Linked DNA regions of Homo sapiens: regions 2, 3 and 4 are each linked to region 1. The links are contacts of gene promoters, found by promoter capture Hi-C in human tissues and cell types (Jung and others, 2019). All regions are on one chromosome and are shown on one strand. The core of a region is centred on a gene start or on the middle of the fragment in contact, and the rest is flanking DNA. Distances in the headings are between cores, read along the strand shown.

Region 1 (7,904 bases), core at 2,801-5,300:
CACCCACCAGGTCCATCCTGGGCCATGCAGTGAGGCTGTGGTCTCCACCAGAGCCTCCCTCCTCCCCAAGTTGGCAGCTGTCTTCCCAACTGACCACCGCCCTTGGCTCATCTCCCCAGCCTACTCCACTCACTGCCTGCCCACAACCAGGAGGCTGGGTGTAGACACCGCCAGAGCCCCAGCACCGTGACGGGAGCAGGGGCACGAGGCCCAACTGCCCAGCAGCCTCTCTGGGCTGTCTGTCTGGGGGCCTCTCCACTGCCCCCTCTTCCCCAAGTTCGAGCCCATTTGTTTTCAGCAGAACAATCCCAAGCCTCAGGGTTGGCCTTCTTGTACCACGACCTACCAACCACAGCTGTTTCACAGCAGTATGACCCCTGCCCCCTTTGAGCCACCAAGGACACCATGCTGGCTTTATCCATGCCCATCTCCAAGATGAAAACAGGAGTCGGGAAAGGGTGGTGCTTCCCAAAGCTCACTGCAGACAATCCTACACAAGCTTTCTCAGGGGCCCCTTGACAGGCTTCCAAGGCCTTCCTCAACCCAGCCACAGCCTCACCTCAGGCCCTTCACAGGCCTGACCAGCCCCACCCAGAGGCAGCACCCCCACTGCGCTACCCCTACCCCTCACAGGCCCCCATGAGGAGGAAGCCCCAGTCCACCAGTGCCCACAGAGCTCCAAGCAGTCAGTGCGGCCAGCAGCATGTGGGCTACAGGGCAGGCTGCATGGAACGGCATGGGGAGGTGGGATCTGCCCCTGTGCCTAGAGCACCTTTATCACCCTCTCACTGACTGGAGGATCTGCCCAAGCCTCTGCACCTTCCAGCTGTCCCTACACCCACTCCCTAGTCCAAGAAGACTCGGAGCAGCCTGCCCTCCCTCCTGCAGCCCCCAGGCCCACCCAGCCAGCAGGATCCTCTCAGTCTCACGGCAACACTGAGACCTTGGCACATGCCCACCCGCCACCCTGTCTCCAGGTTCAAAGTGTGCCCAAAGGCACAGGTCCCAGTGAGTCCCACACTTGGGGCCCACACAGTGCAGCTCCAGGGCCAAGCACAATGAGGAGGGGGCAGAGTCCAGCTCTGCTCACTGCCGCCTCCTCCACTCTGGCCTCTGGGCTGGGCCTGGGTTCAAGATGGTTGGGGCAGGCTCCCTGCACCTCGCAGACCCTGCTGGAGAGAGAAAGGGAGAGTCAGAAAGGACACCTCAGGGACAAAACACCCTGGGAGAAGCCAGAAACCGGATGGCCCCGACTGGGGTGCCTGTGAGCAGAGGGCTGGTGGGTGTGTGCAAAGAGCCTGGCAGGAGTGAGCCACAAGCAGAGCAGAAAGGGGTGCCCTCTCCTGCCTGCCTCACAGCCTCACCTTGCCACGGGGCCGGAAGAAAGGAGCTCACACCCAGAGCCCAGCCCTAGGTGAGCAGGAAGTGTCCGTGAGGGGAGGAGGCCCGAGCTCAAGGAGTAATGAGGAAGCGGGAGAGGAAAGGCTGGGCTGGGCCAAGAGCAGCAGGAAGCTGGAGGGAGGGGAGGCTGTGAGGCTGACAAGGGGGTGCGCTAGAGGCCAAGTCCCAGGAGGGCAGGCAGAGCAAGGCCTGACGCAGACAGCAGGGAGAAGAGCCCAGTGTCCACAGCCAGTGGCCGAGCCCTGCTGCATCCCTAGGTCTGAGGGACAAGCACACATAGCCTGCAAGTCCTGGAGACCCAGGAGCAGATAGACTTTTGGTCTCAGCCTCCAGCCCCATGAAGGCCTCACCTCTCCATCTACTGCCCCTCTTCCCAAGGAGACCCGACCTCCACGGCAGGGACAGGGACTCACCAGGCCTCTCCCACGAGCTCTGCACCCATCCCACACCAGCAGAAGTACAGGAAAGCCTTGCTGGTTTGCAAAGCAAGAAGGTGACTGCTCTCCCCTGCCTACCCCCAGGTGGCGGCTTGGCCCAAAGCTGGGACTACCCTCATCTCACACTAAAAAAAATCTCAATTCCCGGCCGGGCGCGGTGGCTCACACCTGTAATCCCAGCACTTTGGGAGGCCAAGGCAGGTGGATCACCTGAGTTCAGGAGTTCGAGACCAGCCTGACCAACATGGAGAAACCCCATCTCTACTAAAAATACAAAATTAGCCGGGTGTGGTGGGCGCCTCTAATCCCAGCTACTCTGGAGGCTGAGGCAGGAGAATCACTTGAACCTGGGAGGCAGAGGTTGCAGTGAGCCAAGAATGTGCCATTTTACTCCAGCCTGGGCAACAAGAGCAAAACTAGTCTCAAAAAAAAAGAAAAGAAAAAAAAAGAAATCTCAATTCCCACGTCCTCCACAGGTCATGTAGCCATCCCCCTGCCTCCTGGAGAGAGGGTAACTCCAGGAGCCACACCTCCTTTTCAGGTAGGAGGTGCCTAGGCCAGCCTCCCTCACCAGCACCCCAGGCCCACAGCAGGCAAGCACCCCTCTCAGGAGGGCCACCCTCCTCCCCACGGCCCCTTCAAGGCCTCCGTGCCCGACCTTTGTCCATGTTGCTCCATGCCTGACTCTCGCTGAGGTTATCTTATCTCCCAGATGAACTGAGCACCCTGAGGGCCACGACAGTGCCTGCCCTCCCCCAACCCCCTCCCCATGGTGCCCCGTGAAGGAAAGCTCTGTTCTTGCTCACTGAGAGAGCAAATCATTGCCAACTACATGTCCAAAATCAGCCCACTTCTGCCTTGATAACCTCTAGGCCCTCAGCTGCTCTCTAAAACAAAGCCCTGAGGGCCCCTGGGCCAGGGTAAAGGCCATAAAGGGGGGATGGAGGGTGGCAAGGGGATTGCTCAAGGCCAGCTTGGTGGAGGAAGCCAATGCCCAGGCTGGCCAAGTCCTTCCCATCGGCCATGGTTCTCTCCCTCCACCCCTCTCTGTCAGTCATCCAGCTGAGCAGGGCACACGCCTGCAGGTGTGTCCACCACCCCCATACCCCACTCCCCACCTGGAGGATGGAAGTCCCAACACAGAACCCAACTCTCTGTCCCTACAACAGACGCTGGCTCTGGCAACATCGGCAGGGCTCCAGGCCAGCCTAACCACTGGAGCAATGAATGGGCCACGCAGCCACTCTCAGAAGGGTCTGCAAGGACAAGAACGCCTCTAACACTGCCCCTTGTCCGGGGCAGCTGCTGATTCCCCTGTCCTCGGACAGGCCTGGGCTCCTCTGGCCCCCTCCCTGGCAGGCCAGCCCTCCTCTGGGAGCCTTTCCTACCCGCAAGGCACCGCTCATAGCACCAAGAAGGAACCTATCACCACAAACTGCCCAGATCTTATCTGACTCCTTCCATATAAGGGGACACTGTCCAGGGCCGGGCCCCCACCAGCCCGCCCCTCGAAAAGCTCCTCAGGAGCCCCTGAGGATGCACAGACCCAAGAGGATCTGGATGCGGGACACCTGCCGGCTCCCCTCTGCCTGGCCAAGGCCAGCTCCAGAGCCCCTACCCAGTGACCTTGTCAGGTGACTCTCCCCAAGCCTCAGTTTCCCCACAGGGCCCATAGGGCACACCGATCCCCGCTTAGCCCAGGGCCCATGTTCTCGGACTCGGAGCTCGCGCTTCGGCCAACCCCGGAAAGTCGCGGGGCCCTTGGGTCAGAGGTTAGGGGGTCAGGCGCTCCGCTACCTCAGCTCCCAGTGGCCGCTGCCCACGCCGGCGTCTCCGTCCTTGTTGGGGGCCGGGGCTGGCGCGTCCCCCGCGGCTCCCACGTCGGGGCCCGCAGCGGCGTCCCGCACCTCCTCTTCCGCCGCCGCAGGCCCGCCGCCGCCGTGGCTCGAGGGCCGCGACCCTGTCCTCCGGCGCCGGGAGCTGCCGCGGTCGCCCATGGCCTCAGCCCGCACCCGGCCGCAGCCAAGCGTGGGCCCGCCGGGTTCGTAGCGCCCGAGGCGCGCGGCCCCACCTCCGGGCCCTAGACAACGGCCGCCACTGCCCCCTGCCGGCCGCCGTAGCCCGGGTGACCGCCTCACCAGCGCGTTCAACCCGCCCGCGTCGGGCCCGTCGGCCTCAAGGACAACGGCTGCGTTGCTCCGGAGCCGCTAACTAATGGACGGCCGCCTCTCTCGTCCATTTGTAGTCCGCGGCCGACCTGAGGCGGGGCCTGGAGAGGCTGACGGGGCGCAGGGCACCCTGGGAGTCGTAGTCGCCGCGGGCGCGCCGGCGCAGAGCACCCTGGGAGTCGTAGTCGCCGCGGCCGCACCGGCGCAGAGCACCCTGGGAGCCGTGGCAGCTCCCAGGGCCGGGGCTGCGGGCCGCAAGTGCGCGCAGCGGGAACGGACCTTGCATCGCTCCCGCGTGGTCCCGGGGTCCTGTCCGGCCCCACGGAGCGGGATGGTCCGCTGAGGGGTGCGCTGGGCCCCGACTTCCTGGCCGCTGTGCGCCCGCCCCTCGTCCCACTTGTGTACACACGGGGTCTCGGCGAGTCACTCCGGGCAATCATTTAGGAAGCGCCTAGTGCGCCACGGTCCAGCTGTCCGGGCCGGTGTCCGCGGCGGCTCGCGTCGCCCGCCACCCAGCGCGTTGGTTTCTGCGCACGCAGCTTACAGTAACGTCCCTGGCGCGCTTCTGCTCCGCGAGCCCTCTGGTTACCCCGGCAGGAACCTGCTTTTCTTCGCCTTAGGGGGACGTCAGACAAGGGCCAGGTCAGAAGACCAAGCTGGAGAAATGCACCAGGCCCTGCGTCACCGGGACGCCTGCCTTGCACGCGACTCCCAGGCTCTCCACCTCCCCGCCTGCAGAGCCCGGCGAGAGGAGGGCGAGGGCGAGGGCGAGGGCGCAGGCCCCTTGGTGGTGTCTTCTCAGCCCACCCACTCTCTCCACAAGGAGCTCCACGTCCCTCAACTCTCAGGGCCTCCCAGTTTCCAACGTGGGCCAGCCTCTCCAGGATGTCAGAAGTCTGGGCCGCTGGATCGCCGGGACTCAAGAGGCTTCTGTGCATTTGCACGGCCTGTGCAACCGCCCTGTTGTTTTTTGTTTTCTTTTTTCTTTTTTTGAGACAGTCTCACTCTGTCGCCAGGCTGGAGTGCAGTAGCGCGATCTCGTCTCACTGCAACCTCCACCTCCTGGGTTCAAGCGATTCTCCTGCCTCAGCCTCCCGAGTAGCCAGGACTACAGGCGCGTGCCACCACGCCCAGCTAATTTTTCTGTTTTTAGTAGAGACGGGCTTTCACCATATTGGCCAGGCTGGTCTCGATCTCCTGACCTCGTGATCCGCCCACCTCGGCCTCCCAAAGTGCTGGGATTATAGGCGCAAGCCACCGCGCCTGGCCTGTTGTTATTTTTTCTAAAGATGGGGGTCTCGCTATTCTGCCCAGGCTGGTCTCGAACTCCTGGCCTCACGCAATCCTCCCACCTCGGCCTCTGAAGGTGCTGGGATTACAGGTATGAGCCACTGCCCCAGACATCTTGTATGTTAAATGAAGCAACTAATCAACTGTAACAGCCACAGTTGCGGCCCACCTTGGCTTGGTGTGCATATTGCACAGGGCATGGAGTGAGAACATCCTGGATCTCAGGATGCCAGGGTTCACTGAGGACTCTGACTCTAGAAACACCTTCATTCCTCTGGGGTGAGCAGGGGCAAGCAGCACTTCTCTGGAAGCAAACAGGTGCTCCTCCTGAGGTGGGGTCCTCTCCCGTGGGCTGGTCACAGCCTCGCCTCTGAGCTCCGTCCTCTTCCACCACCTCCACCAACAGTGGCCAGCAGGGCTGCCCCCTTGGTTGCCCCCCTGGTGACATATTCTTGTCACCACAGGCCGCTGTGGGTTGCTGCCAACCAGGTATCAGGCAGGCTGGAGCTACCTGGCAGATGCCCTTTGTGTAGCCTGCCGAGTGGGGCCGCCCTCACTGGACCCAAGAGCCCCTCACACATGGGCCTTGGTCGGTCAGGACCAGCCCCATCTCCTACCCAGTCTCTCAGAATATTCATTTGTTGAATGCAGTCGCTGGCAGACACACTCTGTGGCCAGGTAGGCCCAGACCTGTCTGAGTATGGACTGACAGCAAGCTCAGAGAGGTCTGGACCTGGCCACGGAGCACCTCATGCTAGGCAGAGGAGATCAACGACTCAACCTGTGGTCGCGTCCCAACTCAAAGCCGGCAAGTGGCCACAGGAGAAAGACAATGGGAGGGTGGACTGGACCACCAGGGAGGATGGGTCGGGCCTGGTGAGCAGAGCCAGGCTTGGAGCCAATGGGGAAAGCACTGGCTGTGGGCGGGCCATTAAGGAAGGGCTTTGCCACCGGGGGTGGGGGCGTGGCGGGGCAGCAGCTCCAGAGGTGGGTGAAGCCCTGCCCAGACAGGCCCTATACCCTGGGATCTAGGGTGAGGGGAATGGTCAGGGTAGGTGAGGTTGGTTGGGGACAAGGGTGTGTATGGCTGGGTCATCGAGGAAAGCATGATGCAGATCACCCTGCTGGGGGCAGCAACAAATGAGGGGGCCCAAGCCCGAAGCGAGTTGCCTTCCAGGGCTAGTGGAATAAAGGGCTGGAAGTGGGTTGGGGCCTCAGGCTGATCCCAGGGCCTAGGGGCCATGGGTGGGCCAAGAAGGCCTGTGAGAAGCAAGGGTCCCAGGAGAGTTCACAGCCAGTGGTGGTCTATGGCCTGTGCTGCTCATTCAGAGGGAAACTTGTGTCTGTGGCTGGGAGGAACTGGGGGGTCGAGCTCATCCCAGGCCTCAGGGAGGCCACCTCCATCCTTCCACCCACTCTACGCATCAGAATCCTGGAGAAGTAGAAACAGCCAGTCGCTGTTGGAGTCCTTTGGAAGGAGTGAGGCTAGGAGCCTTCCTCCTGGCCATTGCTGTCTGCCATTGTCATTGCTGGTAGTGCTCTCCCAAAGAGAGCACCCACCTGCACCACAGCTCCTCCAAGTGCCAGGCACACAGGCCATGACATGCTGCAGACCTGGTTCCCCTGCTCTCCACCCTAGTGGAGTCTGGGCAGGTCTGTCCCCTGTCCCTGCTAGGGTGTGGGCAGCTTTGCTGGCCCTGGATCTAGGACTGACCTGGTTTGAATGTATGTGCCCGAAGACTTTGGGCCTCTCGGCTCATGCCTGCCTACCTGGTTACCAGGGGACATTGCTGGGCAAAGGGTCCCTGTCCCTTATCTCCTCCACTACTCATTCTGTCTAGAGCCCTTGGGCGATGGTTGCAGAAGCCTCTCTGCCCCCTGGGCACCTCCTCCCTGGAACCGGTCCAACCCAGCTATCCATGGAGGCATCCGCAGACACTGGGGGAGCATATCTGGGAAGCCTGGGGGTCAGAATGTGGGCAGCAGGCCACAGGAAAAGGGCCAGACCTCGAACTCTCCACTGTCCCCATTTCCTGCAACAGCATCTCAGAGGGCTTGAGGTGGCTATCAGGCCTTCCATCACAGCATAAAGCTCCTTCAGGGAGAGAAGAGCGAAGGCACCCAGGCTGGGGAACAGCAGCTCCTACTATACCTACCCTGCCCACTCTGGTCCAACCGTGGGCTTGGCCTGACTTTAGACTGGAACCCCTTAGTGCTCCTGTTCCTGGTGTGGAGCAGATCCACCTACCCCAGGGGAAATGCCAACTACTTTGCCTTCAGACCTGATGCTCCTGTGGTTGGGCCTGCCAAGCCTGCCCTCCCCAGTGGAAGAAGAGGGCCGTCTTGTGAAAGGCCTCAGGCTGACCCTTGCAGCACCAGCCTCTGAGGTACTGCCAGACTGGGAAGACCCTCCCAGCCACCCAACAGCGTGGGCCCAGCCCAGGACACATCAGCCCGACACTCCAAATTCTATCAAGAGTGGCATTTATTCTCCTTGTGGAGGTGCGGTGCTCCGGGGAGCTGGTGCTATTGTGCTTAGGAAGGAGGTCTGTCCGTCCGTCCGTCTGTCCGGCCGGCCTGGCCCCAAATGGGGGCGGAAGAGGGGCAC
Region 2 (7,904 bases), core at 3,837-6,336, 680 kb after region 1:
GAGATGGGGTTTTGCTCTGTCGCCCAGGCTGCAACCTCGACCTCCCGGGCTCAAGCGATCCTCCTGCCTCAGCCTCCCGAGTAACTGGGACTACAAGCAACGCGCCACCACACTAAATCTTTAATTTTTTGGGGGGTGGTTGAAGGTGGGGGCGGGACAGGGTCTCTCTCCGTCTCCCAGGCCAGAGTGCAGTGGCGCAATTACGGCCCGACTCCTGGGCTCAAGCGATCCTCCCACCTCAGCCTCCGGAGTAGCTGGGACCACAGGCGCCCACCACCACGCCCAGCTAGTTTTTGTATTTTTTTGTAGAGGTGGTGTTTTGCCATGTTTCCCAGGCTGGTCTTGAACTCCTGAGCGCAAGTGATCCACCCGTCTCAGCCTTCCAAAGTGCTGGGATTACAGGTGTCAGCCACCACGCCCGGCCCTAAATATTTTTTTAAAAGTTGGATTTTTCATGGTGCCCAAGGGAAGAGACACTCCTTTCCTTTTACTAAGACCATTTCTTTTAGAAAACTTTGTAATAGGAAAATCTTTCTTTGCCCTCTTGAAATGTATGTAAATTTTTTAAAAAGCTGCATAAGCCTCTTGCCAGTTTTATAAACCAGGAATTTCTTTCTTAAGGACCTTTCTTAAGGACCTTGGAGTGATTTCTTTGAAATAAAAAGGCCAAGGAAGATAGCTTCCCTCCTTGTCTCTGTGGGAGTTTAGCAGATGGCTGGCTCCAAGTTGCAATTACCTGCTTGTCATAGAGACATGAGGTTTATTTTAACTTTGGATAAAGGCAGTTAGCTAACACAGATGGCCGCCCCAAGTACCACGTACCTGCCTTCTCGTTTAGAAACACTGTGGGCATTAGGGGCAACTCATGCAGAAGACCCAGGAATCTTCCAGGTATACTCCATGGGATGCCTGTTCCACTCTGGCCCATTGGCACAAGCTAGCCTTTTCTTTTAAGGATAGTGGGGTCCGTTCTGAGAGCGGCCTTTGCAACATCTCACTTCCCCTGTTGACTGTTATTTCTTTTCTTCCTGCTTTCCTACTCCCTTGATCCCAAACTCACTAGGGGTATTTAGTGAGCACTTACTGTTGCAGTAAGACTCTAGCCAAGGAAGACGAAGAGACAGTTGGAGACCAAAGAGAACTTCAATTCGGGCACCCGAGCCTAGAGCAGGCTCATGCCCAAAATGGCTACCGACCCAGACAAAGAAAGCAGGCTTGCTTATATGTCGTTTCAGGCGTGAAAAACAAGGCAGGATACAAGTTTCAGACAAAGACAGTAAATTATTCAACCTGTGACAATTCTGAGAAAACTTACATTTAGTTATCTTGACCAGTCAACCTTGAAGCTGGACAGAGCTGGGGTAAGGGAAAACAGGAATTACGGAAGTATGAGGGAGTCGCGAGGCCGGAGATAAGCTTGGAAGGTTGAGATAAGCTCGCAGGTGCAACTTCTTAGCAATGCTGAGAGTGGCTGCTTAAATTTCTTAGCCTATGTATAACTTCTAAATAGCCTACACTAAATGGTAACTATTACCTATGTTGTGTTTGTTATTTTAAACTTTAATGTTATTTATTTTATTTCATTTTCCTTCCACATTACCTCTGCTGTTAGCAGCTTTGAGAAATGCTGCTATAGGATGTGGGAAGTCATTAAAGGATTTAAGCAGGGAGAGGCAAGATCAGATTAACATTTCAGAAAAATATTTACTGTTTTCCAGCTGAAACTAGTAGAGTACAATTTACTTTCTGGTCACAGCACACAGCAGTCACATCCTGGAGGAACTGTACTTCTCTAAGATCTAGTCTGTCCTGTGGTTTAAATGACCTTTAGCAAATTGTCTTTATTACTTTGTACACTGCTTTCACCAGTCTGCTCTTCCATGGCTAACGGGGCAGAACTGTTATTTTTAGGGTTTTCCACATCCAGTATGTTCATAAGATTTCTACCCTGTGTGAACTTCCAGATGTCGAATAAAGGCTGGATGCTGACCAAAGACCTTTCCACATTTTTTACATGTGTGTAGGGTTGCTCACCAGTAGTATTCCCCTGATGCTTCATAATGGTTGATCCCAGAGAGAATGCCCTTTCACACTCATTACATTCATAGGGTTTCTGTCCAGTGTGAGTTCTGTGATGGGAAATTAGGTTAGAACTTTAAACAAAGGCCTTTCCACGTTTGTTACACTGATAAGGCTTATTTCCAATGTGGATTCTTTGGTGTTACACAAGATTAGAGCTGTAGTTGAAGGTTTTCCCACACTCTGCCTTCATAGAACTTGTCTTTATAGTGAAATCTCTGGTGTTTTCTAAATTGTGTTAGTCCTTCTTAAGGCTTACCATGTTCACTACACTACACAATTCCTCTCCATGGTAACTATTTGGGTGCTCATTAAAGGCTGTACTCTGACGTTCTGCATGTTTTTGAGATTTCATTAGGATGTGGGCTTTCTGGTGATTGTTAAAATGTGAGTTATCTGAAGCTGTGTCCAGATGAATTACGTTGATAGGTTTTCTCTTTTGTGGGAACATTCAGATATGCTACAGGGTTTGAGGTCAAGTCTAGGATGCTGTCAACATTGTTATACTCCTGGCTTTTCTCCCATGGAATGTTTTTATGGATCACTGTGATTTATCTTCACATGTACTTGACTAGTACTTTCTTAAACATTTTCTTAGTTTTCCTCTACAAAGATTTCCCTGATATTTCTCTAGTAGACTCACAACTCTGTAGGCTTTAAAAAAGTTGGGTGCTTAGTCAATATCTCCTTTTTAACACATACCACCCACTGTGGTTTCATGCTTTGGGGGTTCCTTTTGGAGAGGCAACTCTTTGTTATCTGCCTCACAACCTGAAGCAATACAGCAAGCAGGAAACATGGCATAATAAAAAGACCACAGCCTTTTAATTCTAAAGACCAAGATTCTACATTTCCTCTTCTCCTTTCCAGACAACTTAGTCCCAAAGGTATAAAGTAAAGCTGAGCAAGGTAGCATCCATACCAGGGCTGGGGGAACCAAAGCAGGAAAGAGCAGCAAGGTGGAGGCCATCCATATAGCAAGACTGGCACAGTGTGTCCAGCCTAAGCAGGCTGAAGATGTCTTCATGGAAGGGCAGAGGCAGAAGGGCAAGAGGCAGGGGTTACAGTGAGCCAAGATTGCACCATTGCACTCCAGCCTGGGCAACAGAGCAAAACTCTGTCTCAAAAAAAAAAAAAAAAAAAAAAAAAAAAGATGAAACCCCTATTTGTAAGACTAAAACTATAAAACTCTTAGAAAAAAAAAAGGCATAAATTTTTGTGACCTAGAGTTCGGCAATAGTTTCTTATAAGTGACACCACAAACACAAGCAACCAAATAAAAGATAGGTTGGACTTCAAAATGAAAAACTTTTGTGCTTCAAGAAATGCCATCAAGAAAGTGAAAATACAACCTATAGAATGGGAGAAAATACTTGCAAATCATATATCTGATAAGGGCACAATATCCAGAATATATAAATAACTTTTACGACTTGTCTAAACAGACTACCATAGGCTAAATGGCTTTGACAACAATTTATTTCTCACAGTTCTGGAGGCTGAAGCCCAAGATCAGGGTGCCAGCTGGCCGTTCTTGGTGAAGGTGGCTCCCTGGTTTGCAGACTGTGGTTTTCACACAGCACCTTTGCCTAGCGGAAATGGGAAGCCTCGGGCCCTTCATCCTAATCCTGTCTTGGGCCTCCACCCTCATTACCGCATCTGAACCATCTCAGTGGGGACTGGGTTTCAACACAGGCATTTTGTGGTGGATACAAACATTCTGCTATAGCGCAACTCGACAATAAAAAACATCCCAACTGTAAAGGAGCTGGAAAGGCAGAAAGCTAAGGTCAGTGGGGGATGCTCTGAGCGTCTGAAGACAGCGCAGCTATCCGTAAGGATCACATGCGGCTTCCCTCGCCTCCAGCTGCGCAAGGGCAGGTGCGGGCAAGGAAGTCCCACTGGGGCTTTTGGGGACCCAGCACAGCTCGGGCGAGTGGGTGAGGGTAGAGAGGATGCCTCAGTGCGTCCGGACACCACCGAGACCATAGTTCTCCAAGGGCACCTAGAGTGGATCCAGCTGAGTTCAAGTCCAGACGCTGCCTCAGGACTTCTCAGGACCACACTTCCCGCCCAGGTTGTTTCCTCCCTCTGGGAGCAGGAAAGGAGATGAGTCTTGGGGTGTGCGTGGGACTACTGGCCTGGAGCTGCTGTCAGCTCTGAACCCTCCCCCTCTCTCCAGGAACGCAGTTAGGCTTTTCGCGCTAGTCCCCCGGTAGGGCTGGCCGTCTGGGGCGCTCGGGCTTCCTTCCCTGACGGGCTGCAGGGTCTTTTGTGGCGTTTCTGTCTCCTTCGCCGCAGTGTGATCTATTGTTAACAGGGGTAAATCCACATGGGTCTGCTGCAGCCTCAATTCTTGCCTCCTCAGAAGAAAGAATTTGACGGAGAGGCATGAAGCATAAGGCAGAGGGAAAGATGGAGGCAAGTTTTAGAGCAGGAGTGAACATTTACTAAAAAGCTTTAGAGCAGGAACAAAAGGAAGCGAAGTACACTTGGAAGAAGGCCAAGTGGGCCACTCAAGAGATTAAGTGCACGGTTTGACCCTTGACTTGGGGTTTTATACACTGGCAAGGTTGTGGCGGTCGGGGGTTGGGGAGCATCCCTTCTCCTCTGATTCCTCCCTTGGGGTGGGCTGTCCACATGTGCAGGGTGGAAGTGGGGACACATGCCCAGTGTGTTTACTGGAGTTGTGTGTATGCTCACTTAAGGTGTTTCTTTCCTTACCAGTTGAGTCTTCTAATAAGGTATCAACCGGTTAAACTCTGCCACTTCACCGCCCTGTGTGCATGCTCAAGCCCACTTGCCCAACTCCTAAGATCTCATTGGGAAGCTGCTGATCACCAGCTTCAGGTTTTTTCTATCTGTTGGGAGACTGCCTTTCCCTTGTGCTGGCAGCAACCAATTCTTATTTGAGAGAGACAACTAACAACTACCTGACTGTCCCCTGATGGTCACCTGGTGTTCCTGGTGGGTGGGAGGGCTCTCCTGACTGCCTGACTACCTACTGTAACACTATCACCCCCACTGAAGCTCCCGAGCTCTTGTGGAAGACGTTATCCACTGAGCCTGTTCCCAAGAAGCAAGATTTTGACTTTACTAAACCCTCCACAATCTGTCAGATACAGCGCTGCATGGATAAATAGCTGTGGATGACTGACCCAGGAAGGTGCTGGGGTAAGCGGGCTCCTGAGAGACAAACATGCTCGAGAGAGAACTTTCTATTCAGTCAGCCTTTGAGCAAACGCTTCTGTTACATACAGCAGGCATGGTGTATTAGTCTTGTCTTAGGCCGGGCGCAGTGGCTCATGCCTGTAATCCCAGCACTTTGGGAGGCTGAGGTGGGCAGATCACAAGGTCAGGAGATCGAGAACATCCTGGCTAACACGGTGAAACCCCATCTCTACTAAAAATACAAAAAGTTAGCCAGGCAAGGTGGTGGGTGCCTGTAGTCCCAGCTACGAGGCAGGAGAATGGTGGGAACCTGGGAGGCAGAGCTTGCAGTGAGCCGAGATCATGCCACTGCACTCCAGCCTGGGTGACAGAGCGAGACTCCATCTCAAAAAAAAAAAAAAAAACAGAAAAAAGAAAGTCTTTTCTTTCATTGCTATATTCTCTCATTGCTGAGATTGGGCAATTTATATTTTTTTAAAAAAGGTTTAAGAACCAGGGGAGCTGACAGCATAAACCTCTGTCCCAGGGCTGGAGAAAATGAAATTAGATGTCTCAGCTCAAGGTGAGACAGGAATAAAGGGGCAAATTCCTCCTTGCTCCACTTTTTCTATTTCACATCCCCAACAGATTGGATGATGTGCACCCATATTGGGAAGGGGAATCTACCTTGCTGATTCAAATGCTAATCTCATCCAGAAGTGCCCTTGCCCAGAAATAATGTTTAATCTGGGCACCCCATGCCTAGTCAAGTTGACAGGTAAAGTTAACCATCCCGGTAATTATTATCGTTTTTTCCTACTTCACAGATGAGGGACCTAAATCATATAGAAGCTGAGTAATTTGGCCAAGGTCACACTTCTAATAATTGACCAAACTAGAACCCAGGTAGATTGGTGCCCATGCACTATCATGTACTGACCAGCTGAAAAGTCTAAGACTTTGACCCAAGCTTAGAGATCTTGGGCAAGTCCCTTAAGCTCTCTGAGAATCCATTTCCTTCATTTATAAAATGGAGATAATAACAAAATGTATGTCATCTACCTCATTAGTTAGTTGTAAGATCAAGTGAACTGTTAATAACTGGACATGAACTAATTGTTGTTAGTGTTCTCAGAGCCATATTTGCCAGCAAATGTGCTTTTGATAGCTTAGGACTATCTTTAACTGTTTATGAAAGAAGCATACGCTAAAACCTTGCAAAATCCAGTCTAAGTAAATATGACTGTTATGGGAAGGCCATCTCTGGAGTTGGGCCCTTTATAAAGAAGATTCCAAGGCTCCGATACCTGTCTTCTCTTCAGGAAATGCACATTCCTGTCCTGCATTTTCACTGATTTTTGTGAGATGCTTATAGTCAGGAAAATTTATAGCAGTACCCTTTCCCAAGCATTCACTTTAACTATGGAAATATATGGTTATTTTTTTCCTTAATTGATATCATATTCTTTTTTTTTCATCTTCCTTCTTGGTATATATTTTCTTATAATTTTTCCTAACTTAAAAATTAGATGATAATTTTTTTGGCTTTAATTTCTTGTATGATGGTGTCTTTAATGACTTTGTGCCTTTCATTTATTTACTGACATCCATTCTCCTATATTTTATTTTATTTTTTGAGACAGGGTCTCTATCTTCTAGGCTGGAGTGCAGGGTGGTGCAGTCATGGCTTACTGCAACCTTGAACTTCTGGGCTCAAGTGATCCTCTTGTCTCTGCCTCCTGATTAGCTGGGACTACAGGTACACACCGCTACACCCAGCTAGTTTTTAAAAAATTACTTTTCGTAGAGACAGTATCTCACTGTGTTGCTGAGGCTGTTCTCAAACTCCTGGCCTCAAGGAACCCTCCCAACTCAGCCTCCCAAAGTGCTGGGATTACAGGCATGAGCCACTGCACCTAGCTTATTGTTCTATATTTAAAAAAATCTCTTATACGTTCATTATTCTTAAGATTTCAAATATTCTTTGAGGAAGCAATACTTTAATCAGTAATCTTCACCTTTAGCTCATTTTTTAAAGCAATTTTGTTTGTTTTTTTAGAGGCAGAGTCTCCCTGTGTTGCCCAGGCTGCAGCCTCAAACTCCTGGCTCAAGTGATCCTCTTGCATCAGCCTCCCGAGTAGCTGGGGTTACAAGCACACACCATTGTATCCAGCTTTCTCTTCTACTTAAAAGAGAAAACTCAGAGGATGCAATCACTTCCTCCTCTGAAAGCCATCCTCTCTAGCTGTTCTTGATTTAGCCCCTTCCTCTACATTCCCAGCACAATTGTAATCTTCCACCACCAAGTATCCTCTTTTAACTTTACAGTCTCCCTGTCAAGTTCCTCTGCCTACAAATACCTGTAAGGAACTTTCATCCTAGTAAAACTCTTCTTGGTCCTTTGTCTCCTTCTAGCAATTGCACTACCTTTCAAGTTTACTGAAGGTTTTCTGTGAGTACAATCTTTGCTTTCTCACCTGTTTCACATCTTAACCATTGCCTTCTCATTTATGCACCTTTCTCTTTGCCAGAAATGTGGTGACAGAGATCACTGGTGACTCCTTTATTGCCAGATCCAGTGCATGCCTCAGTCCTTAATTCCCTGGAACTCTGTTGAATTTGTCATTGTGGTTACTTAGTCCCTCTTAAAAGTTTGTGTTATCTCCCCCATAAGA
Region 3 (7,904 bases), core at 1,548-4,047, 570 kb after region 1:
ACAGAATGGAAGAAAATATTTACAAGCTATCCATCCGATAAGGGATTAATAACCAGAATGCAGAAGGGAGTCAAACAATTCAATAGAAAGAGACAACTAATCCGATTTAAAAACAGGTAAATGATCTGAGTAATTTATCAAAAAAAGACAATATGTATGGCCAACAAGCATATGAAAAAAACTAAAAATAGATCCACCATATGACCCAGCAATTCCACTGCTTGTTATATACCCAAAAGAAAGGAAGTCAGTATATCAAAAAGATATCTGAACATACATGTTGACTGCAGCACTATTCACAATAGCTAAGATATGGAATCAACCGAAATGTACATCAAATAAATGGATACAGAAAATGTGGTATATGTACACAATGGAATATGATTCAACTATAAAAATAAGGAAATTATGTCATTTGCAGCAACAGGGATGGAACTGGAGGTCATTATGTTAATTGAAATAAGCCAGGTACAGAAAGACAAATATTGCATGTTTTCACTCGTATGTGTGAGTTAAAAAAGTTGGTCCCATGGAGGTAGAGGGTAGAATGATGATTACCAGAGGATGGGAAGGGTGGGGTTGGGGGGAGGTATGAGATGAATAGAAGTGGGTTAATGACTACAAACATACAGTCAGATATAATGAATAAGTTCCAGTGTTTGATACCACGGTAAGATGACTACAGTTAATAATTTATTGTATATTTCAAAACAACCAGAAGAAGAGATGTGAAATGTTTCCAACACAAAAAATGATGTTTGAGGTGACAGACATCCTAATTACCCTGATTTGATCATTATACATTGTATGCTATCCTTGTATCAAAATATCACATGTATCCCATAAATGTGTATAATTATTATATTCAATAAAAAAGAACTTTAATAAAAATACAGGTATATTTTTATTATTTCATGTGGGAAGGGCTGTTCTAAGCAAAATACCAAAAGCAAAAAGCAGAGCTCCACAGATCTGCAGCTTATAAATCAAAATCATATGCACATCAAAGCTACCAAACTCCAAAAATGGACCTAAAGGCATGCAACAATTTAGTATATGACAAAAGCGGTTTTTCAAATCAATGGGAAGATCAATGGTGTTAGAAATGGCTATGATTTAGAGGAAAAAAGGAATTCCAAAAGCTGTATTCCAAACTCACCCCACAATAAAATAAATTCCAGACGTATCCAACATTTTACAAGTACCACAGAAAAACAAGAGTTTATTTTAAAAATAATCTTGGAGTGGGGAAAGCCCTTTAAAACACAGCACAAAGCCCAAAATGCCTTAAGGCAAAATATTTGACTCCTAAAAATTTTAAATTTTCTATTTTGAAAAAGCCCAAACCAGAATCAAACACCATAATCAGAGTCAAAAGACAAATTGAGAAGCATGTTTTCAACATACATGGAAAAAAATATGAGCTGGCAAATCACAAAGAAATACAAATGGCGAAAACACAAATGAAGGGATTTCAATCTCACCAATAAACGCAAAACGTCGACCTGGCAGGAATGCAGTGACCTGTCAAAGCCCACAGGACCAGAGTCCCGTCCAGGGCGGGAATGTCAATGGCAATCTCCCACCCTTACCCACTTCGTAGAGACCACCGGACAGAGAAACCTATGTCCAGAAGACAAGTTACGAACTGAAAAATCTGCGAGTACCCACCCGGCGGAGGACGAGTGGAGCGCCCCCTGCCGCCCCTGGTGTTAGTCAAACGACACCAGCTTCCCTTTGATGACAGAAAAAAGGGTGTGCGTGCGTGCCTAAAGCTCTAACGGCATTCAAAAATTCTGAAACTGTTCACAGCTCCTGCCTCTTCATACACTGGCAGAGTGTCGGGGGGGATGACTTTTATATATTTCTGACATGCCTGCATTAGAAGAAGTATTGCATATTATTTTCAATTTTAAAATTAAGCCAATAAACAACAAGGAAAATATTTGCTGTGTTGCAAAGAGTTGGGCTCATTCATTAAAATAGGGCTCTAACACAGTAACAGAAAAGACAGCATCGACAGCAAAATGGGGAGAGGATAAGACACCCGGCAAGTAGCACACTCGACCAACTGCTGAAACGAAAGCAGCTCGTTTTCGTCTTGACGCGGGAAGACTTTTTATAGCTAAGTAAAGTGGCGCTCCCGGTGCGCCGCCGGGGTCTTCATGGGGCTCCTCAGGATGTGCATCAAACAGAAAAAACCTCCATTTTTATATTTTGGGGAAGCTCCCCACCCCTTTCCGGGCCCATCCCAGGGGACGCGAGACCCCGAGGAGCGCGGCAAGAAGAGCGGCCCGGGGGTCCGGACTGCGCCCCTAGGACTCCGGCCATCCTGGCCCTAGGCACGGCGCCCGGTAGAAAGCGCGCGGGAGGGCACGAGGGGGAGGAAGGCCGGAGATCTGAGGAGATCCAAGGTGGGAGGGACGCCGGTCTGACGGGGCCCAAGGGGGTAGGGGCGGGGAAGGGACCGAGGCCGTCCGAGGCGGACGGGGGTGCGGGAGGGCCTGAGGGGGTCCAAGGCCGGGCGAGGGGAAGGGTGGGAACCCCGAACGGGGGAGAGGGCGCGGCCTTGGCCCTGGGGAGGAGGCCGCCGCGCGTCCGTGAGGGGAGGGGACCAGCGTAAACGCAGGAGGCAGTGCGTGCTCGCGGGGAAGAGTCCACGATTCGTGTGGAGGACGCACCGGCTCCGGTGTCCGTGATGGGAGAGGGTCCTGGCCGGCGACGACACGCGCCCCCCACTCACCGTCAGAGCCGCAGCCTCACGCGCGAAGGAACGGCATCCCGCAGCACCTTCAGACAAAGGGCTGCCCCGCCCCGTCTGCGCAGCCGCCAATCCCTGGGGGCTCCTGCCCCTCAGTTCCCGCCCCCACAGCCGAGTTCGCCAATCCTGGAGGGCAAGCATGTTTACGTCATTTGGCCCGCCTGCCCGCCCGAAGCCTTTCTCGGTGACCGACTGCAGGGAGCTCTCAGGAGCCACCGAGAGCCAGACCTCCGCGATCCCTAGAGGGGCCGAACACCTCTGGGCAATGGGCCCGGCCGGCTCCCCGGCCGCACTTCCGGGCGCGGAGGTTACAGCCCATCGCCGAGCCTTACCCGCTCGCAGTCCCGGTTCCCGAGCTCCTGCCGCCGTCGCCCTGTGGAGGACACCCCTGCCGGCCCCGCAGTCCCTCCTCGACTTGCGCTGGCTTCGGCCGTCCTGGAACTCGAGCTCGTTCCCCCCTCCGAGCCTTTTGCCCTTGCGGTTCCCGCTGCTGGGAACGACCTTGCCCTCAGCCGCCTGGCTGGTCCCTGCGCCGCTGCAGTGCGAATGTCGCCTTCTCAGGGGCCCTTTCTCTTCCTTCGTTGCAACACTGAAGTCCTCTTGTTTGATGACTTGCGTGAGGTTATTCCTCCCACTTAGGAGGCTGAGTGCTGCGAGGTCCGAGGCGCAGCCGCTCTTCGCTGTGTCCGGCCCGGCGTGCTCCCGACAGGGGGCGTCACTGAACAGCGACCGTCTCCGTCGCCCACTCGGCCCTGGTGTTTGCTTTTTGGTGTGTTTACACCGCGCACCTGGGGGAGAGGGGCGGGCCTTCACGAGGGCGCGGGCCACACCCGTGTGGAGGCTTCGGGCACAGCCCAGGACCTGACAGCCGCGGCAGGGAGGGTGGGGCTGGTTTGGAGCGGTGTCAGGGGACGGGAAGGCTGACGCCTAGTCCACCTTCTGCTGGCCCCACTCCCGAAGGTCAGGTCCGCGTCGTCCATTGGGCGCGTGGGCGGGCCCAGACTCTCAAGAGGCTTCCCCACAGGGCGGGGCTGGGGGCTGCGTGGGGGCGGCGGGGAAGGCTTAAGGTTAGGGGGTAGGCTTGAAGCGAGTGCCCGGCCCGTGCTGTTGGGAGCGGAGGCCGGGAGGATGTGGCGATAATTCCGTACTTGCCGCGCACCAGGCAGACGCGAAGTCTGTGCTACGCTTCAGCGAACTTAGCAGCCCTTGCGGGCAGGGGTTCGCACTTCACGGAGCTACCATCCACCACGCGCGTTTCGAGCAATGGGCCCGTTGCCTGGCGCACTAGAAGCCAAAACGGTGGCACCAGTTTTTGAGAAAAGAGAAGGCTTTATTATTTCAAGGTCGACGGCCAAGGAGACCGGAGGCATGGCTCAAATGTGGCTCCCACATGTGGGCTTAGGTCAAAGTCGACGGGTTAGGGAGGACAGGTTGGCACACAGAAGTGCTGGCGGGCAGGTTTCAATAGGAGGGCTTTAAACTTGGCCATTTATGGTAAGGTGTGGAATGGCAGGTTTCAGCACCAGATCTTCCAGGATAATGGACCCTTCCCTTCTGAAAGCGTTCCGCCCCTCAAGCTCCGGTCATGTCCCTGTCTTCTTGGCTCCACAGGGAGGAAACGTTGGTTCCGAGTTATGATTTTCCTCCTTTGTGCATGTCCGGGTTACATGACTTTCAGTTTTGGCTCTGCTATACCTCCTGTTACCAACAGAATAGGGTCAGTTTGGGCCAGTCTTGTGGTTACACCTCAGTGTCACAGGATTTCCTCTGCCAAAGGGCTGTGAAGCTCAGGACCAAGGTAATCAAAATTCAGCTCTACTATTGGATTGTCCTGGATTGTTTTAGCAGTTGACAGGGATCAAGCTCTGTCCCAGCAACCTTGATCCCAACAGAGAACTGATGCTCCTAGGACCTTCACCTCAGACCTCAGTGCATCCTGGTTTTTGTTTTTCTTCCTCCTCCACAACTTTTTTATTTTGCAAATGTTGATACATTCATAAAGGTTGAAAGAATAATACAATGAATACCTCCGTGCCCTTCACTTAGATTTAGCAGCTGACATCCTCTCTAGCACGTCCCTTCTGTGTCTCTGTCACTCTTTTTCCTTCAACAGCACAATGTTTATTGAGTGCTTGTGTGCTAAGCACTAAGTGTCGGGGCTACATCAGTGAACAAGCAAGTGCCTAACAAATCCATGTCTTTCTGGACCATACATGTGAATGGAGACAGTAGGCAATACGCAGAATAAATGTAGGAATTACAGAGTGTGTCCAGAGATGGTGAGGACTACAGAAGGTCTGGGCAGGTGCCATTGTGTCTGCTGGTTCACCTGGGCGACATGAGGCAGCAGCTGCCCCCTCTTCCTCTGGCTCCTTCAGCTCCAAGACTAAAGGCTCCAGCTTCTCCTATAGGGCAACAAAGGGGTTTCAGCGCATCCTGGGCTCCAGCTTGAGGTCACAGACCTCAACTTGTCTCTCCTCACTTTACATCCATCTTCCCTTCCCAACTGTCTGCCCTGTTCCAGCATCAGATGCAAAGACAACAGCCTTACAGGAACTGTTAACTATGTGCCACAATGGTGTAAGGCACAGTCCCTGCAACAAATCGTATATGATATATATAATATATATACACACAATTTACGTATCGTTCATGAGTATACAGTTTACTTTTTTTATTTTTTATCCTTTTTTTGAGACCGAGTTTCGTTGTCGCCCAGGCTGGAGTGCAATGGCATGATCTTGGCTCACCGCAACCTCTGCCTCCTGGGTTCAAGCCATTCTCCTACCTCAGCCTCCTGAGTAGCTGGGATTACAGGCGCCTGCCATCATGCCCAGCTAATTTTTGTATTTTTAGTAGAGATGGGGTTTCGCCATGTTTTGACACCAGTTGTTTTGGAAAAACTCAAACTGTTTTTTTTTCTGCTCTCACACTGCCACAAGTGGGATTCAAACCCACACCTACCTTAGGAGACCAGAAAATTGTTTCAGAAAAACTCTCAAACCCTATTTTTCCTCTGCTCTCATACTAACAACACAGAAGACTTATGTAGCCCCAAAATATATGGGGATTTCTCCTCATCAGCAAGCCATCAATTCTACTGGGTGTCCTCCAGTTCAGCTCCTTCACTGTCTACCTGGAGATAGTGCCGGATCCCACAGGATGAGGGCTCAGTTCCCGACTCCCCAATCCCCGACAGGAGTCACAGCCTGGGCCTCCAGAACTGATTGACTTCCTTCAAGTCAGTTCACGACTCCCCAGTCCCCGACGTGAGTCATAGCCCGGGCCTCCAGAACTGATTGACTTCCTTCAAGTTGGGGTTTCCATGACTCCCTCTTTGGGTTTGATTTGCTAGAACAGCTCACGGAACTCAGGGAAACCCTTACTTATGTTTGCCAGTTTATAATGAAGGATATTACAGAGGATACAAATAAAGAGATGTGTAGGGCAAGGCATGGGGAGAGGGGTGCAGAGCCTCTGTGCCCTTGCAGGGCACACAGCCCTCCAGGAACTTCCATGTGTTCGGCTCTCCAGAAGCTCTACAAACCCAGTCCTCTTGGGTTTTCATGGAAGCTTCATGACATCGATATTTTTTCCACCAGGCTATGAGGTGGGACCCTCTCTGGAATGATGGTCTTATGACCCACAATCAGAGAGGTAGGGGAAGATTAGGGTCCTGCGGGCAGGAGGTCAGAGAGATTTTGTTCTCTGAAGCCTAATGCATCCAATGTTATAACAAACGAGTGTAACAAGGGCTATGGCAGTTATGAGCCAGAAACCATACAAACGTGTGTGTGTGTGTGTGTGTGTGTGTGTGTGTGTGTATGGAAAGAGAGAGAGAGACCAGAAGTGCTATGCTGGAAACTATTCTTTTGAGGTTGTGTTCACATTTTTTTTAACCAATTTAACATATTATGTTACTATCTCACTTAAGATTGGCATTGACTGTACAACAGAAAGCTGATTACAGTGGCTGAACCAAATAGGTGGTTTTTTTTATGAGTCAATTTTTCTAGGAATACGGAGCCCATCCAAGGCCACACAATGCCACCAGGCCTCTAGGCTCCCCCTTTATTTTCCATTGGCCATCTTAATAAGCAGCTTTCATTTTTTTTTTTTTTTTTTGCCTCATGATTGCAAGAAGACTGCTTCATCACTAGAATCACATCCAGATTCCAGGCAGAAAGAGAAAAAACAAAAGACAAAATCAAATGTATGCTCAGCCAACCCCATGTCTTTCAGAACTGCACCCTGTGACTTTTACTTATGTATTTTTGGTCTAAAGTGTGTTACAAGACCAATTCTAGCTCCAAGGGTGATTAGGAAAATGTGTTTTTTCAGCTGGGTAAAGTGCCATGTTTAACATTAAAAATTGCCAAAAATCAGGCTGGGCACGGTGGCTCATGCCTGTAATCCCAGCACTTTGGGAGGCTGAGGTGGGCGGATCACGAGGTCAGGAGATCGAGACCATCCTGGCTAACACGGTGAAACCCAATCTCTACTAAAAAAAAAATACAAAAAATTAGCCAGGCGTGGTGGCAGGCACCTGTAGTCCCAGCTACTTGGGAGGCTGAGGCAGGAGAACGGTGTGAACCCAGGAGGCGGATCTTGCAGTGAGCCAAGATCGCGCCACTGCACTGCAGCCTGGGTGACAGAGCGAGACTCCGTCTCAAAAAAAAAAAATTGCCAAAAATCCCTGATGGTGTTTTTGTGATGCAATGTGAGAACTTACAGGTAATCAATTTGACACCAGATAAGTGATAAAGAGTAAACTTAAAAATCAATTTAAAATTCATATCCTCAGATCTGATTTCATTAACTATCATTCAGTTTATCCTCAACCTAATTAATATGTACAACTGAGGATATTTAGAAATACTCTGTTCAGAGAAGAGAAATAAACATTTCTTATGGGGAAATATACTATAAGGCTGATAATAAATTGATTTTTAAAAATATATTTGACTGCTATGTCCTTACTGCTGTATTTTTGTTGCTTTATTGAGGTATAAATTGCACAGACAATAAATTGAACATACTTTTAGTTTGATGAAAATGTTGACCTAAGTAGATGCCTGTGAAACTATCCCCACAATTAAGATACTAAACAGGTCCATCAGCCCCAAACGCCCCCATCCCTGGG
Region 4 (7,904 bases), core at 4,018-6,517, 530 kb after region 1:
CCACAGAGAACTAAGGCCAAGAAAACCAAGGGAGTAATTTCCCAGATGCAGACATCCGTTCTCTGTGCAAGGCCTTGTGCAAGCCACGGGGACAAAGATGGACAGGGCTGGCCTCTGCCCTGGAGTCCAGGTCTAATGGAGACTGGCCACTGACAAGGATGGACAGGTGCTCTGTACTGGAGGGGTCCAGTGGGCTCATGGGGTTGGCGCCAACCATGCCTGGACTAAGAATGGTTTTTCAATGGAAAAAAATACTTTGTGACACATGAAATTAAAATTTCATGGCTGGGTGTGGTGGCTCATTGCTGTAAAACCAGCACTTTGGGAGGCCGAGGTGGGCAGATCACCAGAGCCCAGGAATTCAAGACCAGCCTGGGCAACGTGGCAAAACCCCATCTCTACAAAAAATCTGAAAATTAGCCGGGTGTGGTGTGGTGTGCCTGTGAGCCCAGGAGGTTGAGGCTACAGTGAGCCATGATCGTGCCATTGCATTCCAGACTGGATGATGGGGAGACCTTGTCTCAAAAAAAAAGGAAAATTTCAATATCCATTAAAAAAATATCATTGGAGGCCAGGCTCGGTGGCTCATGCCTGTAATCCCAGCTGCCTGGGAGGCTGAGACATGAGAATTGCTTGAACCTGGGAGGCAGAGGTTGCAATGAGTCGAGATCGTGCCACTGCACACCAGCCTGGGCAACAGGAGTGAAACTCCCGTCTCAAAAAAAAAAAAAGATGGTATTGGAACACAGCCATATACATTTGTTTACGTATTGTGTGACTGCTTTCAAGCCACCATGGCAGGGTGGACAGAAACTTCATGGCCCACAAAATCTAAAATGTTTACTCTCTGGCCCTTTGTGGGAAGAGTTTGCTCACTGCTGAGTCAGAGGAAGTGGCCTCTAAGTCTGCTCCACGCTGTAGGGATCTCAAGTCCAACTGGATCATGTCTGCCCTGATTAAAACCCCACTGCTCCCCCTTGCCCCAGTGGAATGACCAAAATCCTGTGTGTGGCCTTGAGGCCAGCCGCTGTCCCTGCACTTGATCCCCCATCCCTCAATCCCCTATACTCGGGCAGTGCCAGCCCCAGTCCCAGGAATGGCCCACTCCCCTGCCTGTGTCTCATAAGCTGTCTTTTCATGGCTGTGTCTTGATTTGCCTGGGTCCCCGCTTGAGACAAGCCCAAGGGTTCACAGATGAATTGAGGCAAACACAGATTCCCAATGAGAGACGGCGAGAGGTCAGCCTGAGGACCGAGGGCAGGTCCATGCTCTGGGCTCCACACAGGCTTTGCTAAGCAGCTGGGAGAAGCAGAAGGATGGGGCTGTCCCTAAAGCTGCTGTTCCTGCAGGGCCAGGGCCAGTGAGTGAGAAAGGCAACATGGTCCCAGCTGCCCCAGCCCCATCCACATCTGGGGACAGAGAATGCAGGAAGTGGCTGGTCATATTCCTGATCCGATGACAGTGGGGGGACAGTGCCTTCGGGGAGAGAGAAGGGCTTTACCTGGAACTCAGTGAGGGTGGGACAAAGCTGAGTGATCGACCAGATGGCAGGACCCACAAGCATGCACCTTAGAGGGCACCTGGGCTCCTCCCAGAGTCTACTGACCCCACCCCCAGGTACTCCTCTGTACCCTGACATGTCAGAACTGCCCATGGAGGGATGAGGAAGAAATCCAGGCTAGTGGAGGAGACAACCCAAAAACTGCAGACAAGACAAACAGCCAAGCAACCCCAGGCACTCAAAGACAAGGGGAGGTTTCTCAGCAGAGAACAGACTAGACATGGTCCAGAAGTGCTCCACGGAGGCAGGAACAGTCAGCTGGAAGCCAGCTGACCGAAAATGGCTCTGCAGAGACCGAGCACCAAGGCCCCTCCTGGAACACAGTTATGCTGGAAGCTGCAAAGCTGGCTACAACCCCTGCACACACCTGCCCTAGAGGCACCCGGGAGAGGTCCCTGCCACCAACTCCACCCTGGTGACAGCCTCTCTGCTGGGCTCTAGCCTCCTCCCTTGCACCCCTCCACACAGCAGCCAATCACCAGATCACGTCTCTCCTCTGCTGAAAACCCTCAGAAGGGCTCCTCTGTCACTCAGAATTGAGCCAAAGTCCTTAAAAGGCTCTCAGGCCTTGACCTCTGTACCCTCCCCAACGTCGCCTCCCCACAATGATCTCCACCTGCTTGGCTGCAGCCAGGCGGGCCTTAAGCACGTCAGGCCTCCCCACACTGGCCGCCTGAGCCCCGTCCTCCCCACCTTGTGCTGCTCCCCTCAGAGCGCTGTGCCCCCGGCTCCTTCAAGTCCTCGCTCAGATGTCACACCCTCAAGGAAGGTCGCCCCATCAGCACGCAGACCCCACCCTACTTGCTGCATCACACGCCATCCTCTGATGAGCTATTCCAGTTAATTTTTATGATTTATTTTACAATGTTTCCCCTCCCCTCAGCCGCACTAGAATGTCAGCTCCATGGGGTCAGGGATTTAAGGCAGAAGAGTGAAAATGCCCAACCTAAAACACAAGATCTACAAAAGCACCTGGCTACATGGGGCCAGGCTGAGCAACTGTATGTTGTCTACAAAGGGCCTCAACCTGGCCTCACATGGCCACGTCCAGCACCAAAGACAAATGTACAGGGAAGGGGAGGGTGTGAGGTCCAACACTCACCTATAGAAACATGTTTTTAGCTGCTTTACTTCCAAAAAGAAAAAAAGGCATAGCTCTCTTTTTCAATTAAACAGAAAACTACATAATTACGTTCAAACACTCACTGAAGAGCCTGCCTCATGGGAAGGGCAGGGCTGTCGTGGGAAGAGTCAGCTGCACTTTGGCACCATCTCAGGTGCCTGTCCAAGCCGGATCTGAATGGGACTGGTCAAGTGAGGGGTCAGTCCTGCAGTCTGCGCTCACACCTCTTCTCCAGATCTGCCATCTCCTTTAGGACCAGGGCCACGCTGTACCGCAGCTCCTGGAACTTGGCTGTGGGGACCTCAAAGCGGTATGCTGACCCATCTGAAAGCTTCAGCTGCATCAGGACGCTCGGCTGCAGGGAGCGAGCCAGGGCACTGGTGGAGATTGCTACATCCACCCGCCACCGAAAGTCAGCAACATGCGGCAGCCAGGCCCCCTGCTGCTGGGCCACAGAATCAAGGAGGGGCCGCTGGCTCCCAAATACCACGCTGGCCAAGTCCCCGACCAGGTCTTGGGGGATGCAGAGCTCCTGGAGCTGGTCCCTGAAGGTGTCAGGCTTCAGGCTGGTGGGGGGCAGACGGAGGGCCTGCTGGAGCAGTGTGTGCATGCCTGCCAGCAGGGCACCCAGCTGCTCCTCCGGCAGGTTGGCGCTGACCCCAAGACGCTGCACAGCCTCTCGGCAGTCCTCCCCCTGCAGGCTGCTGACCACAAACTTCAGCAACTTTCTGAACGTGCTCCTGTCTAGGTCCCCTAGTAGCCGGGCCATTGCTGCCACCTCTGGAGGAAGCTGGGCCCCCAAGAAACTCACTCGGCCACTGTGACTATCACCAGGATGATGCAGGTATGGAGTTGCAGCCCCCACAGCAGACATTGCTGCTGCTTCCTCTTTGATCAGCCAGCCCAGGAGGTCGGTCCCAGATGCAGATGCCTAGAGTGGGGTGGAGGAGAGAAGACCAGTGACTCTCACATCCTTTGGGCCAGCGAGTGAGGGTTGATATGGTCCCCATCATCAGCATGCTGACAGTGTGAACTACCAATGACAGTCAGTGCTGCGGAGATGGCCCTGGAAGCAGGTGGCAGAGGGGTCCATGTCAGTCCCAGGAGGAGCGGAGGCCTCCCAGAGGAAGTGACATCTAAGGCATGAAGGACAAGCAGGAATTGGCAGAGAAGTAGGGGGCAGGGAGGAGGACCAGGAAACAGCACAAGTTCTCCAAGTAAATTAATAGATGAAAGAATGAACTAGGGGAACGGTCCGGGGAACACAGGGACACTGCAGCTGGCGCCACAGACCACACTGAGACCATTTAACTATTCAATCTTGAATCCTTCACAACAGTGGGCAAGAAGAATTACCATTCTCACCTGACAGAGAGGGAGATAAGGCTCTAGGCCAGGTGCAGTGGCTCAAGCCTGAAATCTCAGCACTTTGTGAAGGTGAGGCCAGCGGATCGCTTGAGCCCAGGAGTTGGAGACCAACCTGGGCATCATAGCAAGACCCCGTTTCTACAAAAAATTTAAAAAACTAGCCAGGCGTGGTGGTGCACGTCTGTAGTCCCAGCTACTCAGAAGGCTGAGAGGACAGAGGATCCCTTGAGCCCAGGAAGTCGTGGCTGCAGTGAGACGAAATCGAGCCGCTGCACTCCAGCCTGGACAACAGAGATGCTGTGAGGAAGGAAGGAAGGAACGAACGAATGGAGGGAGGGGGGAGGGAGGGGAGGCAGGGAAGAAGAAAAGAAAAGTAAAAAGAAATCAAAGCTCTAAACACAGCTGCCAAAGTCAAGGACTGAAGCCTAGACCTGTCTATTCAGAAGTCCCAGCTGTTTCCACCACAGCCCCAACCCCCGGGCTGGAAGAGCTGAGCAACGGCTGGCAACAGAGGCAAGTGCGGCAACTAAAGAGGGTTCCGACGCACCTGAAGGAGCAGTGCAGCAGCACAAGCACCTGCTATGCCAGAGGAAACGCACGTGCCCACCTCAGCACACCAGGTACTGGAGCAGAGCTCAGCGGGGCACAGCTCCTGTCCTCGAGGCACTTGTCAGGCCACTCTGCACAGCGCTGGGGGAGCCCAGGAGCTCCCCACGGGCTTCACGGCGCCCCATTCTCCCTGGGAGTCAACGACCACCCACTGCCAACTCCTTCACCGTCCCGCCAGCACCAGGAGCTCCTTCCCACTCCAAAGAGCCATCCGGGAAGGCCTCCGAGCTGCCCGCTTCCGGTCGCGCGGCTTGGAAGGCCGGGTTCGCACCCTGACTCCGTACCCGCGGCTCTGATGGGGGCGCGGCGTCGCCCGTTCCGGGGCGCGGGGACCTTGGTGCACAGAGTCAAATTGGCACTCGGCCGTCGCCGCCCCCACGGTTCGGGGCCAACCTACCGGCGGGCGCTCCTCCGCGGAAAAGCCCCGCAGTATCCAGAGCTCTCCGAACACAGCGGCGAAGCAGCCTTTCCTAGGCCCACACCCCCAGCTCGGGAGGGAGACTCCATCCTACTCCACCCCACGCTCCCGCTGTCCGAGTCGCCCCCAGCACCTGGCGCCGGCAATCCCCGGCTGATGCAGCCAAAAGCGGGCCTGGTCCCCGGAAGCGCCCTGAGAGCCACTTCCGGGCCGCTCTAGGAAGGCAGCAATGACCGCCCCACTGTGGTCCGCTGGCCCGAGGGGCGGAGCCGAGGCCGCGCCAGGTCCCGCCCCCTCCCCGCCCGGGGGAATCGGGGGTCGCCGGCGGGGTCCCAGACCTCGTCTTAGACAGTTTTTTTTTTTTCTTTCCCCAAAGAAAAAGAAGGCGGTGTTGTGTTTCCGTTTCTGAGGTAGAAACTGCGGCCTGCGCCCGCGTCTCCCTCCCCGCCCGCGCAGAGTGAGGGTAAAGCGGGAGAACGCGTCCCGTGGTCTGGGGTCAGAATTCCAGTCACCTGAGGCTGAGGAGCTCGCTGGCTTTCGTCGGCGTCCGGGTGGGCGGCGGGGAAACCGCGAGACCTTGAGGATCAGCGCGGAGCGGAGCCGAGCGGGCGTCCCTGTCCCGTGTGGACGGTCTGCGCCTCCAGGGTTTTGAGAGCTGCCCCGTTTCCCCTCCTGTCGGGTGGCGTCCGGCGCGCGTGACTCGGTTCCGCTTTGGGCTGCTCTGTTGGGCCCTAGCGCAGGAGCTCGGTCCGAAACAATGGCCGAGCCATTTTATTTAACATGTACTTTACCATAGTTAAAAAATAATATGCCAAAATCATTGAATTGTACAAAATGGGTGAATTATATGGTATGTGAATTATAGCCCAATAAAACTTAAAAAAAAAAAAAAAACTCTGAAAAGGGAAACAACCTAATTAAATGGGCAGAAGATGTGAGTAGACATCAAGGAAGATACAAAGTGGGTAATGGGTACATGAAGCCTTCGGCATTGTTGGCTATTAGAGAAATGCGAATGGAAGCCACGGGGAGGTGCCATTTCATACCATTAGAAGGGTTATAATAAAAATGACAGGTTGGGTGCGGTGGCTCACGCCTGTAATCCCAGCACTTTGGGAGGCGGAGGTGGACAACCAGATCTCAGGAGAACTCTATCATGAGACCATAACTTAAGGGCATGGTACTAAACCATTCATGAAAAGCCACCCCCACGATCCAATCACTTCCCACCAGTCTCCACCTCCAGCATTGGGTATTACCTTTCAGCATGAGGTTTGGGCGGGGACACAGATGCAAACCACATCAGCCATACAATGGAATAGTGTTCAATAATAAATAGGAGTGGAGACTGGGTGCAGTGGCTCATGCCTACAATCCCAGTACTTTATGAGGACTAGGTGGGAGGACCACTTGAGGCTAGGAGTTCAAGACCAGCCTGGGCGACATATCAAGGCTTCATTTTTACAAAATTAAAAAAAAAAACAGGTGTGGTGGTGTGCACCTATAGCAGGGGTCCCCAACCCTCAGGCTGTGGACCGCTACAGGTCAGTGGCCTGTTAGGAACTGACCTCACAGCAGGAGGTGAGGGCAACCTATAGTCCCAGCTATTTGAGAGGCAGAGTGAGGACCACTTCAGTTCAGGAATTTGAGACCAGCCTGGGGAACATGGCAAGACTCCATTTCTAAGACAAAACAAATCAAGTCTAAAAACCATGCTGAGGGAGGATTGTTTAAAGGGAATGGATCTGGGAAGTTTAGAAAGAGACTGCATCTGTAAGGTGTTATTTCTCTTTAAAATATCTGAAGCAAAAAGGTGAAGTGCTATCACTTGTGAGGTCTGGGCGGTGGTTACGTGGCAGACCCACCCCCTCCTGAAGTGAGGAGAGCCAGGAACCTGGGGGTGAGTTTTGGAGACAGTTCCCACCCAAAGGCCAGAGTGCCTGGAGTGCCTGGAGAACTCTCATCTTATTGTAGCAGGATGAGCCACAGACAAAACTTCTCAGACACTGGGTTAAAGAAGGAAGGGGTTTTATTTGGCTGGGAGCTTTGGCAGACTTGTGTCTTAAGAGCTGAGCTCCTCGAAAAAGAAATTACTGGCCCTTTTAAGGGCTTACAACCCTAAAGGGTCCACGTGAAAGGGTTATTATGATAGACTGGGAAAGCATGGAGAACATGACTGGAGGCTACAAGCATCAGCTAACAGAACAGAAAGTTTTACAATGCTTTCTTATACAATGTCTGGAATTTACAGATAACACAAGTAGTTTAGGTTAGGGGTTGATATTATTAACACCAGGGCCAGGTGATGGCACCAAGGTCATCTGGCTATTTATCTTCTGTTTCTTTCTCACTTTTTGTTTTCTCCCATTTCTCCTGTCTTATAAACTAGGCAAGACAGGGGGAGAGGAGGGCAGTAGGAGAAGTGGTGGTCTCCTTCCTTACTATGATCAACATTTGTAAGTTAATTTAGCTTGAAACAATTTCAAGCTTAGATAAAAGGTTGCATGAATAGTGCACCTTCCCAGAGACCCCCATTCAAGGGTCACCAGGTGTCCCTGCAATGTCTCTGAAGGAAAGGAGCCTGTTGCCTGGCAAGAGTGGTGTCATCTCGAAGCAAAATCACTGTGGTGGCCGATGTTAGACTCCTGCATACCAAGGTCTTCACACAAGGCCTGTAGCATTGATAACCCCTCAGAAAGATGCTACCTAACTTCCCCAGCAGTCATGAATTTTGCAAGAAAGTCTAAGACATCACCAGCTGCACATGTTTTTACCAAAAAGCTTGCTATATAAAGGATGCTTTCTGGGGGGCAGGTGCAGGGATC

The links. The method cuts DNA at HindIII sites, captures the fragments that hold promoters and counts their contacts. A contact is called where the count stands out against the background at its distance.
Region 2: a contact is called between a fragment that was not itself captured here and the fragment with the promoter of DGAT1 in region 1, in 2 of the 25 tissues and cell types used here (lymphoblastoid cells and spleen).
Region 3: the fragment with the promoter of ZNF250 here is called in contact with the fragment with the promoter of DGAT1 in region 1 in 2 of the 25 tissues and cell types used here (lymphoblastoid cells and spleen).
Region 4: the fragment with the promoter of COMMD5 here is called in contact with the fragment with the promoter of DGAT1 in region 1 in 3 of the 25 tissues and cell types used here (dorsolateral prefrontal cortex, lymphoblastoid cells and pancreas).

Annotation. Positions count from the first base shown.
Region 1 is chr8:144,322,802-144,330,705 of GRCh38, forward strand. It overlaps DGAT1 (diacylglycerol O-acyltransferase 1), which reads right to left and starts at 4,051. Exons shown (of 17, transcript NM_012079.6): 1 at 3,636-4,051. The coding sequence starts at 3,835. It overlaps SCRT1 (scratch family transcriptional repressor 1), which reads right to left. Exons shown (of 2, transcript NM_031309.6): 2 at 7,764-7,904. RefSeq lists an enhancer at 1,127-1,186 and silencers at 3,678-3,747, 3,758-4,477. The HindIII fragment of the contact is 53,552 bases long and covers 1-7,904 here.
Region 2 is chr8:145,003,639-145,011,542 of GRCh38, forward strand. It overlaps ZNF252P-AS1 (ZNF252P antisense RNA 1), which reads left to right. Exons shown (of 1, transcript NR_026974.1): 1 at 1-2,408. Among named protein-coding and RNA genes, the nearest start is that of ZNF252P-AS1, 4.8 kb to the left of the region's middle. RefSeq lists enhancers at 1-142, 1-15. The HindIII fragment of the contact is 4,220 bases long and covers 2,977-7,196 here.
Region 3 is chr8:144,898,656-144,906,559 of GRCh38, forward strand. ZNF250 (zinc finger protein 250) reads right to left here and starts at 2,798. Exons shown (of 6, transcript NM_001109689.4): 1 at 2,744-2,798. LOC124902042 reads left to right here and starts at 2,969. Exons shown (of 1, transcript XM_047422534.1): 1 at 2,969-3,626. The coding sequence starts at 3,027. The coding sequence ends at 3,626. RefSeq lists enhancers at 2,144-2,748, 2,749-3,351, 3,352-3,955 and silencers at 2,482-2,591, 3,652-3,731. The HindIII fragment of the contact is 10,274 bases long and covers 1-7,904 here.
Region 4 is chr8:144,847,781-144,855,684 of GRCh38, forward strand. It overlaps COMMD5 (COMM domain containing 5), which reads right to left and starts at 5,268. Exons shown (of 2, transcript NM_014066.4): 1 at 5,059-5,268; 2 at 2,396-3,615. The coding sequence starts at 3,558. The coding sequence ends at 2,884. RefSeq lists silencers at 3,125-3,276, 5,309-5,498 and enhancers at 4,483-5,331, 4,909-5,238, 5,789-5,888. The HindIII fragment of the contact is 6,847 bases long and covers 1,415-7,904 here.